Linked DNA regions of Homo sapiens: region 1 is linked to region 2. Evidence: promoter capture Hi-C in human tissues and cell types (Jung and others, 2019). All regions are on one chromosome and are shown on one strand. Each heading gives the region's core, a stretch centred on a gene start or on the middle of the fragment in contact. The rest is flanking DNA. Distances are from core to core; before and after follow the strand shown. Region 1 overlaps KIN (Kin17 DNA and RNA binding protein). Region 2 holds the start of TAF3 (TATA-box binding protein associated factor 3).

Evidence for each region. The method cuts DNA at HindIII sites, captures the fragments that hold promoters and counts their contacts. A contact is called where the count stands out against the background at its distance.
Region 1: a contact is called between a fragment that was not itself captured here and the fragment with the promoter of TAF3 in region 2, in 1 of the 25 tissues and cell types used here (spleen).

The regions. Positions count from the first base shown.
Region 1 is chr10:7,753,325-7,756,334 of GRCh38, forward strand. KIN (Kin17 DNA and RNA binding protein) reads right to left here. Exons shown (of 13, transcript NM_012311.4): 13 at 1-2,818. The coding sequence ends at 2,756. Among named protein-coding and RNA genes, the nearest start is that of KIN, 33 kb to the right of the region's middle. The HindIII fragment of the contact is 4,534 bases long and covers 1-3,010 here.
Region 2 is chr10:7,816,967-7,820,017 of GRCh38, forward strand. It overlaps TAF3 (TATA-box binding protein associated factor 3), which reads left to right and starts at 1,539. Exons shown (of 7, transcript NM_031923.4): 1 at 1,539-1,909. The coding sequence starts at 1,744. It overlaps LOC105376392 (a long non-coding RNA gene), which reads right to left and starts at 1,397. Exons shown (of 3, transcript XR_001747356.1): 1 at 1,286-1,397. RefSeq lists enhancers at 1,215-1,733, 1,546-1,605, 1,734-2,251. The HindIII fragment of the contact is 13,699 bases long and covers 1-3,051 here.

The sequences.
Region 1 (3,010 bases), core at 219-2,718, 64 kb before region 2:
ATTTTTTCTCTGAAGAAAACCACCAAGTTGATTCCAAACGTACATACTTGGGGGAGGCATATGTAATTTGTCTGGTTTTACTCATCACTATTTGTTATCAGGGAGAACCATTCTCCTTTTTGAAATTCTTCAGACCAGATTCTTAGTAGTCCAGGCTCAACTTCTTGGCTTCATTTCTGGACATGACCACTCACTGCCATTTATTCAATACCTACTATGTGCTGGACTTCATGTCTGATGATTTATATGTATTTTCTGTAGGTCTCCCATCAACCCTGCTGAAAAACATTTTGACAATTTATACATTAAAAACATTGCAATTCAAGAACATTAACATTCTAATATTACAAAGCCAATGAACAGAACTGCCAGAATTTGATCTAAAGACTGCCCACACCCAAAACCCAGTTGCTTTCCATAATGTGCTGTCAGGTTACTTTGGAAAAACCTTAATTCATCCCTGAGGAACATTTTCTGTAAAGCTTCTGCCATCATCCTATTAGTATTTCTTTACTGCCTCTTACATTTCTGCTAACAGCATACGTTCTCCCATCTTCTGAGAATAGAAGCAATCAGCCCTCCCTGACTCTCAGTTAAAGAGAGAGATCCCAGGGTTTGGCACCATACCTGTGTCTGACGTCAGCTTATACCCATCCTCATGTTTGAAGTGATCATCCTGGTATGGTCTGTTTTTTGTTTGAACTCTTGTAGAAGATCAACTCAGGCAAGGCGTGGTAGCTCACACCTGTAATCACAACATTTTAGAAGGCCGAGGCAGGAGGATTGCTTGAGCTCAAGAGTTTGAGACCAGCCTGGGCAACATAGCAAGACCTCATCTCTACTAAAAATCAAAAAAATTAGCCAGGCATGGTAGTGCATGCCTGTAGTCCCAGCTACTCGGGAGGCTGAGGTGGGAGAATCAATGACCTAAGCCCAGGAGGACGAGGCTGCAGTGAGCCATGATTGTGCCACTGCACTCCAGGCTGGATGACAGAGCAAGACCCTATCTCAAAAAACAGAACAAAAAAAAAGAGGCGTAGTGGCTCATGCCTGTAATCCCAGCACTTTGGGAGGCTGAGGCGGGCAGATCATAAGGTCAAGAGATCGAGACCATCCTGGCCAACATGGTGAAACCTCATCTCTTCTAAAATTACAAAAATTAGCTGGGCGTGGTGGCGCATGCCTGTAGTCCCAGCTACTCAGGAGGCTGAGGCAGGAGAATGGCTTGAACCCGGGAGGTGGAGGTTGCAGTGAGCCGAGATTGCACTACTGCAATCAGCCTGGGTGACAGAGTGAGACTCTGTGTCAGAAAAAAAAAAAAAAAGAAAAAGAAAAGATAGATCATCTCTCTCTTCCCGGTGCTGCTGAAGGGTAAGATGTAAACCTAGAGTGCTCAAGAATGTAAATGTAGAGAGCCAGCACAGGAGCCAGAGACAGAGCGGAAGCCCAGGGAAGGCTGTTCACACCCGGTCCCGCTGCCCTGGAAGCTAGCGTCTGCTCCTTTCAGTCATGTGCACTACAAATATCCCTTCGTTTTTCCTTTGGCACAGGCAAATGTGGGTTTCCTGTCTTTTGCATTCCCTAATAATACACTGCCCTACTTATTTCAAACTGTATGGTTAGGCAGGGTGCTGTGGCTCACACCTGCAATCCTAGCACTTTGGGAGGCTGAGGCAGGAGGATCACTTGAGCCCAGGAGTTTGACAGCAGCCTGGGCAACACAGTGAGACCATGTCTCTAAAAGTAAAAAAATTAAAAACAAATAAAACTATAGTTCAACATTGCTGGTAGGACTGTAAAATGGTATAGCTGCTCTGGAAGAGTTTGGCAGAAGCGAAAGCTTCTGTTCACATAAAATCCTGTAAATGGGTGATCATGGCAGCATTATTCACAATAGCCAAAAAGTAGAAACAATCTAAATGTTTATCAGCTGATGAATGGACAAACAAAATACGGTACATCCATACAGTGGAATATTAAGCAGCCATAAAAACAAATGAAGCACGCCTACATGCTACTGCATGGATAAACCTTGAAAACATGATGCTAAGTGTAAGAAGCCAGTCATAAAAGATCACATATTATATGATTCCATTTATAAGAAATGTCCAGAAAGGGCAAATCCATAGAGACAGAAAGTACATTAGTGGCTGTCTAGGGCTAGGGCAGAGGGGAAAAATAGCGATTGACTATTAAAGGGTTTCATTTTGGGGTATGAAAGTGTTTTAAAATCAGACAGTGGTGATGGCTGCACAATTCTGCAAAAATACTAAAAACCACTGAATTGTATGTATATTTTAAATGAGTGAACTGTATGGTATATGAATTATTACCACAATAAAGCTGCTTCTATATTTATAGTTTGACATTTAAAATTTAGTCACACTTAGAGTTCAACTTTACTACTCTACTACTGAAAATATAGAGTGTATGAAGGATTTCCTCCAATTACATGATTCTAAATTGTCATAGATAAAACACTTTATAATAACATTCTTTAATGAAGATATAAACTCATCAAGTAAATTACAAAGGAAACAAAAATAACAAGGACAAAATTACATAGTTTGATACCTCATGAGACATAATTAAATTCTTCTCAAAGTTTAGCTGAACAACTATACAGTAATATTTTCAAAAACCTGTTTGTTTTATACAAAAGAATATACCCTAACACAGTAGAGTCTCATAATGCCTTGGCGAACACCAATTTGATGCTTTAAGATTTTAATGTATTGTTAACAAATTTTCAAACTCAGGCAAGTTTAGAAATGTCTTCATATTGAATTCCTTCAACTCTGCGTCCTTTTAAAGGGCCCTACAAATTAAAATAATTTAAAATAAGGTTAAAAACACATATTCCTAAAAGACAAAAAAATGACACCATACTTATGGATACAAATTTGCCTTTTCCGCATCCCTAAAATACCATTAAGATTGTTAACATTTGTATACATCTATGAATTTTAAGAATAATCTATGGCATTCTCATTAAGAACTACCATATTTT
Region 2 (3,051 bases), core at 289-2,788:
AAATGTTAACAATTGGTGAATCTAGTTGAAGTGTACACGTGAGTCTATGATTTTGTTTCAACTTTTCTGTAGGTTTGAAATTTTCCGAAATAAAATCCCCTCCCCTATACACAGAAAGGCAAATGAAGAGGAACAAACACCCAGGGTGGCGGCGGTAGCGGGACAGATTTGTGAAATCCAAGGCGCAAGAGAGTTTCAATGTTACAGAAGCGTTCAACATTATCAAATAGCTACAAAATAATCAAGTACGGCTAGGACTGAAAAATGTCTCATAGATTTAGCAACACAATGTTCCTGATAACTTGGGGACAGAGTGTCCAGGGAGTAAATGCAGGCACCTTGCCCTTTAGTACCTTGCTTCTCTGCAGATCGTCATTTAGCTGAAGAACCATAATTTCAGTTCTATTATTGAGTTTCCCAGACTTTGAAAAATGTGAATATCATGTTCAAAGTTCTGGAATAGTCCCTGTCGGAGGAATATAGAGCCACTCATAAACTCGCAATTTATTGGAGGAGCACATAAACTAAATACACTGTGATAAGTACAGAAGGGCATATTTAAGAAACCGCATAGTTCAGCCACTACAATCGGGCGACCTGCAGGCTGAATCTAGACTAACCGTGGGATCAGTTTGGCTTTTGAGATGTGTTCCCAATTCTGTATTTAAAAATCAAGATATTTATCCCTAAATCCGATTTCTGGCAATACTTGGATGGAGCTGGGAGAAGGCTCTGGGGTAGGCAACCGTTCCCAGGACACTCGGCCTGCGACACCGGTTTAAGGCTCGGTTTGGCCTCTGTAGGCAGCCGAGGTCCCCATCCCCCGATAGGTCACAGCCGCGATGCTCAAATCGCACACTATAGCCCACAGGCAGCTTACCTGTTTTTTTTAAAAAAAAAAAAAAAAAAAAAGTTTTATTGGAACCAGGGCTGGGATTAGAATGACATGAGTGAGTCAGGAGTTTATGGCATGGATTTGGATTTTTTTAAAAAAACTGTTAAAATATTATCGATCTTGATGACTGAGTTTTTTGAGGCCCCCATTAATTTGGCACAGAGTCCTCCTAGTTCCTGCCCTATTGCGAAGGGCTTTGAAGGGCATGCGGAACAGCTTGGACTTTATTTAATCTTTGCAGTGGCAAGCAGCTCAATACACAGATTTTTAGCTGAGGCAACACCAGCGCAGGTCTGCGTTTGGCGAGCTCCGTAAGTTCCCACGCCCCAAACTTCTCTCTAGCACATAACTCTCTAATATGACTAACGTTATTAGTGCTAACTCTCTAACCTGTCAATGTCGTATCCCAGATCCCTCGTTTGCCTCTAAAACACTGGCGTTTTCGTCACCGCTGTCCCCCAGGTGAGCGCCCCAGCACCTGCCGCCCTGGGCGCCTCCTCCACCTGCGCGCCCCACGCCCGCTTCCGGCCGGCTTCCAGGCCTCAGAGGCGATCCCGAGGAATCGTTCCGCTCCCAAGGGGCGGAGCTTTCTCATCGCCGCGCTCGGCATTCGGCTTATGCTGCCTCGCCCCGGCGGCCGTCCAGCGGGAGGCGGAGCGAGTCCAAAATGGCGGCTCTCAGGCTGGCGCGCTCCGTGCTGCTGGGGCTTTGAGGTGGTCGCCGGGGGTCCGGGGGACCCTTTCCCCGCCGCGGAAGCCCTAGAGGATGAATCGGGGACCCTGCTAAGGTCTGGCGGCGGGGCTGGAGAGCAGTGGCAGCAAGGGCTGCGGTGGCGTCCACGCAGCGGGATGTGCGAGAGTTACTCCAGGTCGTTGTTGAGGGTCTCGGTGGCGCAGATCTGCCAGGCGCTGGGCTGGGACTCGGTGCAGCTCAGCGCCTGCCACCTCCTCACGGACGTGCTGCAGCGCTATCTGCAGCAGCTGGGCCGGGGCTGCCATCGGTACTCTGAGCTCTGTGAGTACCGGGCTGGGTGCGGGAGGGCTGCCCCGGCAAGTCAAGGGTGACACCTTCGCTCTCCCTGTCCCTCCGCGTCCCCGGGGTGTGCATCCCGCACCCCGCCTCGAGATCTGCTGTTTCCTCGGCCTCCCACGTCCCTGGGCTTCCACTGCCGCTCCAAACTCTAGTCATCCTTCGGGTGCCTCTTCCTTATCCGCTAACTTCCCGCCACCAGCCCGGGAGTCGGGTCTTCGCTCCCAGCTCCACACCCTCCTACCGCTCCTCCGCTCTGAATTGTGTCTGGATCTCTCTCATTGTCTCCTGTTTGCTGCGGGTAGATCCACCCCCAGCGTGCCCTACACCCTCTTTTACCTCGGTCCTTTTTCTCCCTTGCCCGCAAACTACTACAACTAGTTGTCACAGGCGCTCCGTCTACCGGCCGTTTCTTACAAGACTGGCCATTCCTGGGCTCCTAACTACATAGACTCGTTGACAGCTCTGCTCCGTTAGGGACACTGCCTCGTCTTTCTGTATCTGTTCGTTTCGTGAACGACATCTCCATTTACTGTTTTTCCAAGGCTGACTTTGTCAGTTTCGCTGATTAGATGTACTTTCACTTACGTCTCGGTTACCAGTGAGATGTCAGTGGCTATCGAAGTAGGATAGAGGGACCGTGGGCAGTTGACAAGATTCTCCAGGTAATCTGGGCTACAGTACTTATGAGTTTTAAATGAATGTCTGGTAATATCTATAGCTAGTGGTATTTAATAATTTAATGGAAGGAATGGAATATTTTAATAGAAGCTCCACATTATCTTGTTGATGTGAAGCATTGTATGTGTGTTTGTTGAGGAGAGGAAACTACCACTCATTTTAGTTTCAAGTCATGATGTTTAAGGTGGTGAGCTGGAGAACTGAATGAAGTGTTTCATAGGATATTTTGTTTTGTTAAAGTGGTTCCTATACTGGAAAATTGAGACTCACAGACACACGCTGTATTTCTTAGGCCCCAAGTTTCGTTCCCGCTTCCACAGGGCTGCCAAAATAATCTGTCCATAGCACAGATCTGATCCTGTCATTATTCTTAAAAACATTTTAACTATACTTCGTTGGTTACAGGCTAAAAATCGAAACTCTTAGCAGTACACAGTTCCCTTTGT